Regions from separate parts of the Homo sapiens genome. Here region 2 is linked to region 1. The links are contacts of gene promoters, found by promoter capture Hi-C in human tissues and cell types (Jung and others, 2019). All regions are on one chromosome and are shown on one strand. The core of a region is centred on a gene start or on the middle of the fragment in contact, and the rest is flanking DNA. Distances in the headings are between cores, read along the strand shown.

Evidence for each region. Contacts are between HindIII fragments. The study calls those that stand out against the background at their distance.
Region 2: a fragment that was not itself captured here is called in contact with the fragment with the promoter of GALNT16 in region 1 in 8 of the 25 tissues and cell types used here (aorta, dorsolateral prefrontal cortex, heart right ventricle and 5 more).

The regions. Positions count from the first base shown.
Region 1 is chr14:69,258,216-69,264,299 of GRCh38, reverse strand. It overlaps GALNT16 (polypeptide N-acetylgalactosaminyltransferase 16), which reads right to left and starts at 4,142. Exons shown (of 15, transcript NM_001168368.2): 1 at 3,833-4,142. The coding sequence starts at 4,009. It overlaps GALNT16-AS1 (GALNT16 and EXD2 antisense RNA 1), which reads left to right and starts at 3,773. Exons shown (of 4, transcript NR_184249.1): 1 at 3,773-4,010. RefSeq lists a silencer at 3,037-3,096. The HindIII fragment of the contact is 13,760 bases long and covers 1,297-6,084 here.
Region 2 is chr14:69,383,367-69,389,076 of GRCh38, reverse strand. ERH (ERH mRNA splicing and mitosis factor) reads left to right here. Exons shown (of 4, transcript NM_004450.3): 3 at 1,994-2,114. It also overlaps a transcript of GALNT16 not described here. Among named protein-coding and RNA genes, the nearest start is that of ERH, 12 kb to the left of the region's middle. The HindIII fragment of the contact is 7,932 bases long and covers 1-5,710 here.

The DNA of each region.
Region 1 (6,084 bases), core at 2,893-5,392:
GTCCAGAGATGTTAAGTATTGTGTCCATGGTCATTCAGTAGTATCCCAATTTCAGGCTAAGAAACTCCGGTTTAAGAAATTCTTGCCTAAATCTTTCACAGTTCTAAATAGGAGACTGTTGACACAAATGAGTGCACCTATACCGAAAATGAGTAGTCTTTTTAAAAAATGTAAAGTGAAATTCCATATAACACCTTAGCCTCCCACCCATGCCTGTTAGTGAACTGGCATATGGAAAACCTAAGTCCCAAACCAAAACAACCACAAATGTTCTCGCCAACTGTGAGGACTGAAGACTCAAGGCCGGCTGTGTCAGCCCTGCCTCCCAGTTTGGCTGCTGTCCTGTCCCAGCGTGCATCAGTGTAGATTCAAGGGGATGTCCCCAAATCTACTGCCTCGCTGCATCGGGTACAGCATGGAAAAATCACAAACCTTGCCGCATCGTAAGCAGCCATATAGGGATGGAATCAGTATCTCCCTTTAGCTTTACAGATTCCATAGCCAAATTTTTCACATCAAAATTGGTGACACTTGGGCCGACAGCAGGACAGAATATTAAAAATCAGGACCTTCTTGAGAAATCTGGCCATACGGTTGCCATGCCGACACCCTGTAATGCCAAACAGGCATCTCCAAGGTCCAGAAGCAACTTGGCTGGCTTCAAATAGTCCAGACATTGTGAAAGCAGAGCTGCCTCCAGGTCCAGGCGCTTCTGCAGACCCTCCCTTTCCCAGCTCAGCTCTCTGATTCCCCAAGGGAGCAATGATGACGCCTGTCTGAATTTGCCAGCCTCTGACAGCAGGGCTAGCCACATCATTCTCTAAGAATCTGAAAATCCACATGCAGCATCCTGGCCCAACTAGACAGAGAAATGTTTCTGAATAAGCGGTTACCACAAATTGCAGGGAGAAAGTAAATCCTCAGCTGCACCTGCCCCTTTTAAGTTGAACAAAGCATTCAATGCCTGCAGAAGCTTGAACGTACATCCCCCACCTCCTTACTTAGAGCCACCTCCTTACTTAGAGGTTACAGTTGATAATAAAATATTAAGGAGATATGAATATAATACAATAATATTAGGGGGATGTGAAGCATTGACTGCCCCCAGAAATGGGTGAGAATCCTATTTCACTCCTTTAAGAAGCCTTGCTGTGCACTTTAGGAGGCTGAGGTGAATGGATCACATGAGGTCAGGAGTTTGAGACCAGCCTGGGCAACATGATGAAACCCCATCTCTACTAAAAATACAAAAATTAGCTGAGAGTGGTGGCGCATGCCTGTAATCCCAGCTGCTCGAGAGGCTGAGGCATGAGAATCGCTTGAACCCGGGAGGTGGAGGTTACAGTGAGCCGAGATCATGCCACCTCACTCCAGCCTGGGTGACAGAGTGAGACTCCATCTCAAAAAAAAAAAAAAGAAAAAAAGAAATCTTGCTGTGTGCATCAATGTGGGGATGCAAGGAGCTTCCAGCACAGTTCCCGCATGCATCACTTACATTCAGCTGCAAATCACATGGAAGAAATAACTGGAAGAGAGGAATACAATGAAACAATGCAAGGCAGTTGTCAAAAGTGGTGCCTGACGGGGGGGTCAGTGCTGGTGGAACAGGCATCTAAAGCTTAAGAACAAAGAGGGAGCTGGCTGTGCCCCTAAGTGGCCACAGAAGGCTCTGCCACTCCCAGGGACTTCCATTCTCCCTTTCTTCCTGCACCTTCACTTCCCAGCTCCCAGGTATCTCCCTGATACTCCTTCATACTTTAAACTTAGCTTCCCGCTCTGAGACCTTTTCTTACCTGCAGCAAGTCAAACCCTGTGGGAATAAGCAGGGACAAGAGGATGTTTACTGGTGATTCTCATGACCTCCAATTCCCACCCCTCAAAATGAGTGCTGAATCCTTCCAGCAGGTCCCCTACACCATTCTGGGACTCTTGAGAAATGTGAGCGGCCCTCCCAGTGCATCTTACAGGACTCTGGAAGGAGCAGGAGAGAGGTGCATGGGCCAGGTCAGGGTTCAGGTTCCGGGTTCCAAAGCAGAGGCTCTGAGCAGCAGTCTCCTGTGCTCTCTTCCCTCCTCTCCTCCCTGCCCAGCCTCTTTCTCCGCCCCTTCCAACTCAGACCCTCTTCTCATCGCCTCACCAGAAAGAGGGACAGAGCATCTGGCCAGCCTGCCTTGCCTGAGACTAGGGCTCTTCCTGCCACTGAGTATGAATGTGGCAGCCTGGGCTCCTGGAGAGGAAGCTCCCTGGGGTCTGGAGGCCACTGCTGGTTTGGACAGTTCCAGCTCCAACCTGTCCCTCTGCTCAGATCACAACACTCTGGGGCCTCAGCACAGGAGGCTTTTCCTTATCAGTTTTCTGTCCAAAGGGCGACAAGTGCTTTGGAAACAGTGTCCTGGGAGAACAGCCCAGAAGGGAACAGTGCACCTAATCAGGCTTGCCCCCAGAGAGTTCACCCAGACTGGTATCTAGGACAAAACCCACAACCTCACCCCCCCGCCCCAGGTCTCCTCAGGCAAAGCCCTGAAATAATGTTTCCTTTGCAGGGGACTCGGAATCTGGGGCAGGATGGGAATATGAGGGGACACTCTCCAATGAACTTCCCGATATTCCTGGGGTTCAGATCCGCGTCTGGATGCGTTTCTCGGATTCGGCTCCACACAAGCCTCAGCCCTCCGGACCTTGCACCTCCCCCGCGGATCTCCTCACCCCTCCACCCCCAGGCCCAGATCTTTCCTTGTCGGAATCGCCACGCTTCCTCACTCCTTTACCCCCGCCCCACTCGGCTCTCCTCTTCCTGGTCCTCATCCGGCCAGGCTGCCCCGCCCTGGTAGTTCCCGAGGGTCGTCCGAGGCTCTCGTCCACCAACCGCCCCCGTCTGGAAGAATGCGCCCGCTCGAGCGCACTCTCGGCGGGTGCCAAAGCCTCCCGCCTCAACAGGTGCCCCTGCCTGGCCACGCACAGCTCTGTCACCTGGGGCTCGGACGGAGACGGCGACAGGATCGCCCCCTGCAGGGCGGCTGCGGCTCCGCACGCCCCCGCCCGGGTCCCCAGAGCGCCAAGGGCCCCCGCAGCCCCGCCGCCGCCCCCGCTGTGCCACACTGCCTTTGTTTCCCTGCCCGCTTAGATGTCGCGAGGCTGACTTCATGCAAGGGTATCGCCAAGTTCGGGCGCTGACACTGCCCACCTACCCGTGGTGGCGGACCCTAAGGTTGGGAGTGAGAGACGCGTACAGTGCGAGACCTCTCCTCAACCCAGAGAACTCCGGGGAAGCTGGGTGTCCGCGCCGAAGAAGCGGGTTCAAGTTGACCCGGCTCAGAAGGGGGTTCGAAGCCAGGCGCAGCGCCTAGAGAGCCTTCCCCTACCCACGCCCCCACCCGATGTCCTCTGCCCCCAGAAGGCTGGAGAGGGGCTGCGCACTGCCACCTACGCGCTCGGCTGCGAGTGGTTCCCACCGCCCGCTCGCCGCGCGCTGGGCCCGGCAGCCTTCCGGGGCACACGAGGCTCCCGCAGCCCCCAGACTCCCGGCCCCGGCAGCGCAGAGCCGGGAGAGCCGCCACGTTCCCAGCCGCGCGCGCACGCCGGGCCCACCAAACTTGCAGCACTTTCTCCCAGCCCCCACCCTCTGTCACCCTCCCTTAGTCGGTGCGCCCCAGCCCCGCCGCCCGGCAGAGGTTGCCATAACAACGGGCAGGAATGCTCCAACATATACAAAGCCGGCCCGGCGCAGCGGGCACTCAGCCCTGGCCGGGCCCCGCGCCCTCGGCCGCCGCGCAGGGTCTGGACGCGCGCCGCGGCTCCCTAGCCGGCCGGCCGACGCTCGGGGCGTACTCACAATGAGCGGGATGGTGCGGTCCTCGCGGAGCTGCTCCGACCTCCTGCCTGCCCTCTGCGCGCCCCGGCCGCCGGAGGATGCTGCGTGGGCTCGGTTGTCCTGCCATAAGTAGTAGAAAGTGCCCAGGATCCAGGCTACGGTCAGGATGGCGATGGCATTGGCGCGGATCTTCCTCATGGTGGGCAGACGGGCGCCCCAGGTGGGGGACTGGGCCGGCGTGCTCTCGGGGCCGGGGCGGGGGCGCTCGCAGCCCCAGCTGTTTGTTTTCGCTCGCGCCTAGCTGCTCAGTCCTGCAGAGCAGAAAAAGGAGAGAGGTGGGGGGGCGGGGGGGTGATAGGGAGAGACAGGATCGCGGAGCGATCCTCACGGTCCTAATGCCCTTCAGCCCCGAGCGCGCGCGTCCCCCGGGCGCCCATTCATTCGTGCGCAGGGCCGGCCCCGCGCTCCAGCCGCCGCCGGCTGACCCACCAGGCCACTGCGCACTGGGAGAGAAGCGCGCCGAGTGGGAAGCGGCGCGGGCCTTCCTCCCGCGCCCGGGAACCCGGCGAGACAGACGCCCGCGGCGGAATGGCGACTGGCCAAAGCCAGCCTCGGCTCCCACCGCTAGGTGACCGAACGCCCGGCAGCTGCCCCCGCGCGGCCCTGGTCGGTCCTGCCGACCCACACCCACCCCCGGACCGAGCGGCCTTGAGTCACCGACTGGAGACGCGCGACCCCCGACCTGGGCCCGCGCCGCGAGCTGCAGTTCCGGGCTGCGCTCTGGCGCGGGATTCAAGGTGTGTTCGGCGAGTCCTTGTGTAGGGGCGGCTGGGCGGGGGAGAGTCCTGAGTTTGTACTGGAATCTGCAGCTGAGATTAGCCAGACCGGGCCCGCCCAGAGGAGGGATTGGAAGCTGGTGCACTTGACATTCGAAGAGCGCGAAGGGGAAACGACGCTGCCTCACACCCAGTGCTAGGAGAGTGCGGGTACGGCCCTTCCACATTTTTCGCTGGCCTGGGGCTCCCAGATTTCACGATGCTTCCCTCTATCCCGCCTCATTGACCCCTGGACAACCCTGAAATATCATCGTCAGCATTATTTCATCGGAAAGAAGGGCAGCAAGAGAGGCCGGATGATTCTCCCAAGGCCACACAGCTAATTAGTGGGCAGAGCCCAGTCTAGAAGCCATCTCACCATCTGACACCTTTCGACAAAGTGCAAAACGCGGTGGTGAGAGACGAGGACACAGACATTAAGATTCCGCTCCAGCCCTAGAGGCACTGAGAATCAGAACGTGAACTACTCTTCACTCCAGGCAGAAAGCAAGAGGCTTGGATGAGTTTTAGGAAACCAGCACAGTGTCGGGCACAGAGCGCTCAATGAATAGATGTGTAACAACAAAGTAGGGATCCAACAGAGGAAGAAATAATTTATTGTAAGGTGGCCTTTGGGAAAGCTCTCAGAAAGGTGGATGAATCACTTAAGAGGTAAGGAAGGGGGAGGTGAGGACAGGGGAGAGACTGCAGAAATAGGCCTTGCAAAAATCCAGAGGATGGAAGAGCTTGATGTGTTCAAGAGAGAGAGCTGCCAGGCGTTGCAGGGGGCCTAGGATTTGATAGGAGTTGAGGTTGGCCAGGCTGGGTGAGTCTGAACTCAGGAGGTCCTTGAATGCCGGGGCAGAGTTGTTGAGGAGTCTGCTTCCTGCTGGCACTGCTGGACACCATGGCTACTCCGAAGACCCACATAGGGTCCAGCCTCTAAATGAAGCCATCTGGGGAATCAGGCAAACTGAAGTCACAGCATCATGCCCCCCCACAAGCATCCCATGAGCACCACCCTGACAGATAGAAGTAAAATCAGGTGGCTTTTCTCCATTTCTCCAGCACTCGAGACTGAACCGCACATATAATAGATGCTCAATACATTTCTGTTGAGGTGAAGAAACCCTAGTTGGGTTTTTGCTGAGGAAAACCCAGGGTCATTACTGCAATACGATATCCTCACTCAGAAGACTAATTACGATGACACTTAGACAAGTCCAAAAGTGACCCACGCAGGAATGGGACCTAGAAAGAAGAGAATGCACAAAGAGGGCCTCACAAAGGGTCTACACAAGTAGCAGGGAATTTCAGGCATAAGGTGTGGCAGTCACAACAGGGGCAGGAGTCTGGAGACGCCAGATGCTCTCCCAGGTCTCTCTCCCCTGGGGAGTTTAATAAGACTGCGCCAGGGGCCAGGGCTTGTTTGCATAGATGGAGAAAACCACTGCCAAA
Region 2 (5,710 bases), core at 2,355-4,854, 130 kb before region 1:
TGCACTCCAGCCTGGGCAACAAGAGCAAAAAATCCATCTCAAAAAAAAAAAGTATAACTGTGGGTCAATGCCTTTTTAACATATACGAATTTATTTTCCTAGTTTTTATTTTCTTTCCATTCATTAACTCATGGGTGATATTCTGTGATCACAATGTAGTATGCCAGTAGCAATAAAAAGCCCTAAGATAGTTGTTTAATAGTTCTGTGGTTGAATAGTGTTTTTATTAGGAAATTTATAAAGTTAATTTGGAGCTAATAAAAGGCTTATGTATACAGTATAGGACATGTTTTTTCTAGATAACTAGCATTTATGTCACTTAGCCATTCATCATAGTAGTCTTAAAATAGTTGACAGCGGGAATAGACTGAAAAGGTGTATTCTCCTTTTGTGGGAATAAGAAAGGAGAGTATCAGGCCGGGCACGATGGCTCAAGCCTGTAATCCCAGCCCTTTGGGAGGCTGAGGCACGCTGATCACCTGAGGTCAGGAGTTCAAGATCAGCCTGGCCAACATGGTAAAACCCCGTCTCTACTAAAAATACAAAAAGTTAGCTGGGTGTGGTGGCGGGTGCCTGTAATCCCAGCTACTTGGGGGGCTGAGGCAGGAGAATCGCTTGAACCCAGGAGGCGGAGGTTGCAGTGAGCCAAGATCTCATCATTGCATTCCAGCCTGGGCAACAAGAGCAAAACTCCATCTCAAAGAAAAAAAAAAGGAGAGTATTATTGAATAAAAACTAAATAGATAATATACTCTATAGCTAATTATAATTAGTAATGTGGGCTTGCTATTAATGATTTTGCTCATTATCTTTTTTATTATATTTAAGTACTTATATCCTTGTTCATGTGCTAATGCTTTATGTGTATTATTTCAAATAAACCTCACAATTCTATGAAGAGGCACTCTTAACTCTGTTTGACAGGTGTGGTTCAGGGAATGGCGTCGTTTGTCCTCGGTTTGACAGGGGCAGAGTTGGAACTAAAGTCTGTCTGAATCCATAGTCTAGGATTTTTTGTTTGTTTGTTTGTTTGAGACAGAGTCTTGCTCTGTCACCCGGGCTGGAGTGCAGTGGCCGATCTCGGCTCACTGCAATCTCCACCTCCCAGGTTCATGCCATTCTCCTGCTTCAGCCTCCCGAGTAGCTGGGGCTACAGGTGCCTGCCACCATGCCTGGCTAATTTTTTGTATTTTTTTAGTAGAGACAGGGTTTCACTGTGTTGGCCAGGATGGTCTCTATCTCCTGACCTCGTGATCCGCCCGCCTTGGCCTCCCAAAGTGCTGGGATTACAGGCGTGAGCCACTGTGCCCGGCCTAGTCTAGGATCTTAAATATACATTAGGATAATCTCTTTCCTTGTTGCCAATTTTTTTTTTTTTTTTGCTCTGTGGCTTTAGGAAGAATTACTGAAAAACCTGTTAAGACCCACAGTGTTATTTGTTTGAGCCATCAGATGGCAAGTCTTTAAAGCCCCTTAGCTCCAGTGGTTTGAAGTAATCATTTTATTATTAAGACACAAAATAGTTACATCAACATTGTGGTGAATTTCTCAGCTGCCCAGACTGGAGTGCAGTGATGCAATCACGGCTCACTGCAGCCAAGTGATTCTCCCACCTCAGCTTCCCAGGTAGCTGGGACCACAAGCACACGCCATCACGCCTGGCTAATTTTTTAATTTTTGTAGAGATGAGGTCTCCCTGTGTTGCCCAGGCAGGCTGGTCTTAAACTGTGGGGCTCAAGTGATGCTCCTGCCTCAGCCTCCCAAAGAGCTGGGATTACAGGCGTAAGCCACTACACCTGACCTGGTGAATTTATAAAATAAAAAAGTATTTGCTAGTGGCAATAATCAAAAGCCATCAATCTATCATCTTTTCCCCAGCCCAACTTTATTAAAGTAAATATGATATCAACATATAGCACAGCTCATAAGCACTGCTCATATCTAGAAGTGTATGCGATTGTAAGATTTTGCTTTTTTTCCTATCCTTTCTTAGGTGTTTGTAAAATGTATGAAGAACATCTGAAAAGAATGAATCCCAACAGTCCCTCTATCACATATGACATCAGTCAGTTGTTTGATTTCATCGATGATCTGGCAGACCTCAGCTGCCTGGTGTAAGTATTAGCCAACATGTCTTTTATCTTGTATTTTCTATTGCTTTTCTGTCTGTTTGAGGTGATTTATGGTATTGGGAGCTAATTATGTGCCTGATACTGATCTTTGCATTTGCATAGTGTATAGTAATTAATATTTCTCTTACAGAAATAAGAGATTGGCAACATAAAGCCAAAGGCACAGAAAAAAATAACTTTGCTAATTGATATAGTTAGTATCCAGAAAGGATCCTAATTCAGAAGTTCCATGTGCCTCTTCTTTGTTCCTTATACCTAATTTTTTTTTTCCTTTACAGTCTTTGTCTTAAAGCCATTGGTTTTGGATTAAAACTAAGATTATCTTTTTTTCATGACATTTCAAAAACTTAAATATGCGTATAGCTGAAATTTAATTTCAATCCTACGCTGTGTAAGTACGTATATTTTGGTATGTTAGAGTGAGATTTTTTAACATATTTGTTATAGTTTGTATTGATAATCTGCTTCTGACAATTACTAACAAGGAGCATAAAGTGTTACTGTAGACTTACCTAATCTTTTTTACATTAGCGAACAGAAATTGAGTGTAAATACAGCTCATTTAACCGAGGAAAATGGAAGCACCTTATGATACAATACTCAATCATCAGATACTTGAATATTTATTACATGTCAGGTGCTGTGCTAGAAGTTGAAAGAGCAGTGATGAGAAATATACAAGTCTTACTCATAGGCACTTCCTGGATCACCACTGGAGCCAATCATGGAATGTGGCTGCACCATGCTGTCTCCCCAAAAGTTCCAAAACACGCATTTCCTTGGGATGTTTGAGTTTTGTTTTCTGTACCTCTTCATTGTGTTCCGGTTGTAGCCATTTCACTTTGATCACTCAGAACATTCAAATGAATGTTGCATGGTACTTTAAGCCATTCAGACATCTATAGGAAAAACATACCAGACAGAGGGGATGAGGGACAGCTAGTGTAGAAGTCCTGAAGTAGGAGTGCCTAGCATGTTTGAAGTCATTAAGGAAGCCTTTGAGGCTGCAGAGGAATGAGTGAAGGAGAGTGTCTTAGGAGATTGGAGGAGCAGGGAGCAATGATATCCTGGAAGCCAAATGCAGAAGTGTGTCATATCATTGATAGGACAGATATGTGAGGACTGAGAATTTAATTGACCCCTGGATTTGACACTGTGGAAGTCTTTGGTGACTTCCAGAACGGTTGTGGTAGAGTGCCAGGAGTAAAATGCTTACAGATTTCAGTGTATGGAAGGGAATGAAAAGAGAGGATTTATAGGTGGCCATTACAGGCTTGCTTTTTTTTTTTTTTTCCTTTTTTTTATTTAAAGAATTTTGCTTGAAAGAACAGAAAAATGGGGTTGTAGCTGGAGAAAGAAATTGCTTTTTTTTAAGTGGGAAAAGTAATGGTAAGTTTGCAGGCTGATGGGATGATGTACCAGAGAAGGAGAAACTGATAGCTCAAATTGGCTCTTGGACAGTTCAATCATAAAAAAGGGAGGACAGGCAAATTTGGGAGCTGGGGGGAATTATCTTCTGTATGCTTCAGTTATCTCAGAAAGATAAGGAGCAAGGACATCATTTGAAACAGGTGTTACAGGTTTGTGGAAAAGTAAGAAATAAGCTAGGAAGGTGAAAGAATTAGGGAACTGCAATTAATTCAGGGATGCATTAAGTGTCCTCCAAAGTACCTATCTGATAGTGATTTAAAGTGAAATCAGTCATTGTGATCATGGGATTTTTTTCCTAGTCTCTCTCACCTGGATGGTTACAGGTGAGGAGTAGGTAGAGAGTAAAGATTTTGCTAAAGGTTGAGGGCATATATGAGGACAACAGCAACGACTGAATGACCATGAGCTTTAATTGGGGGTGTAGGAGGAGGTGCTGGAAACAGAGGTAGATCAGTTCATTGTAGGTCCCACTGGATCAAGGATTGCTCACATTAGAGTGTTAGGAAGTGGTGATCAGAGAATGACATGCTTGAAATTAGGAAATTGAAGTAGTTGGAAATGACAAGGTCTAGGGATCTGGCCAAGAGAGGGTAGGAGATGAGATCATTAGAGGAAAAGACTTCATGGAATTGGGAGGCCTAAGTGTTGACAGAATCATCCACTGGATATGAAATTACCAATAATGTGTATATTAATTGATAGAATTTAAGAAGAAGTTGCTTTGTGTTTGTTCACTGCTGCATCTCTGGTACATAATTAGTGCTGAGTAAATATTGGTTATATAAATGCACGTCACTTGTGTTGTTATTTGAGGAATAGCTTTCTAAAATTATTGATAATTTTCTATTTCCCTTATTTATATTACAGAGCTATATTCTGCATTGATTAAAAATTAATGGTTGTCTTTATGGTTTTATAAAAGAACCTTACTGAAACATTCAGGATGTAATCCTGACGCTTTTGGGATGTCATACTTACTCCCAGTAAGTGGGAAGTAAACTTGAAGCAAAGGATCATGTTTTACTTGTCTTGGGAGGCTGTGGTTAAGAGCTAGCTGGAGTGGCAGAATTAGACATAGCTGGGTTTGAATCCTGGGTCTACCATTTGCTAGCTCCCTTTGACAAGGCAGCTTTGTATTGCTAAACTTTAGTTTGCTAATTTGTAAAATTCAGACAAATCTAGTTCATAAGACTCCTTGTGAGGATCAAGTGCTTGCTGAGCACAGCATTATTAGATATGCAGCAACTCCCTTTTCAACTAGATTGAAGAAGTCAGGATAGAGTTTTATTTTTAATTACAAGCATGTTCTTAAATTTGCCAGGAGTAGAATGATATGAATTTTAATGTCTACGTGTGAGATAAATTATAAATTTCAAGGGAGATTTAAAAGGTGTTGAGGTTTTTTCAACAATATGAAAATTGAGCAGAGTAAAACAGTTACAAGTGACATGTTAATGATATACAAGTATGTCATTAATGACATAACATAACTTTTCTAACTTTGTACTAGACTTTATAAAAAAAAAATTTTAGAGACAGGGTCTTGCTATATTACCCAGGCTGGTCTCAAACTCCTGGGCTCAAGTGATCCTCCTTCCTCAGCCTCCCCAAGGAGTGATATTACAGGCATGAGCAACTGTGCCCGGCTGCATTAGACTTTAAAATGTAAACTAGAAACCATATCTAGCATACTAAACTGATTTTTAATACAATATTTGCTATATTAAAGCAACATAGGGGGAAAGCTTTAATTATTACCTAGATAATTCTTCCCACCTACAGTATTTCCAGAAATATAGAAGAGAGGTTAATGATAATTTATGGTTTTTTAGTAGTTTCAGAGTGTTAAAAACCGTAAATTATCATAGCTTGAAAACCTGTAACTATTTGTTTGTTTCTAATGTTGAAAATTTTTTGGCCTCTGAAAAACTTTCAGAATCAAATTTAGGATTTAAAACTATTTTCCCCAGGTGACTTTGGTTATGTCCTTTTTGTTCTTTGAATATTCAGGAGAAATAAGGTATTGTTTCCAAAGAGGTAACCCACTGCCACAGCACATCCTGTGATTTGGGCCGTTACTCCTCAGACCAGAGACTGGGTCCGTTTTTGGTTTGTAGATGGTTGTGTGCTCATAGTTTCTATTAAAT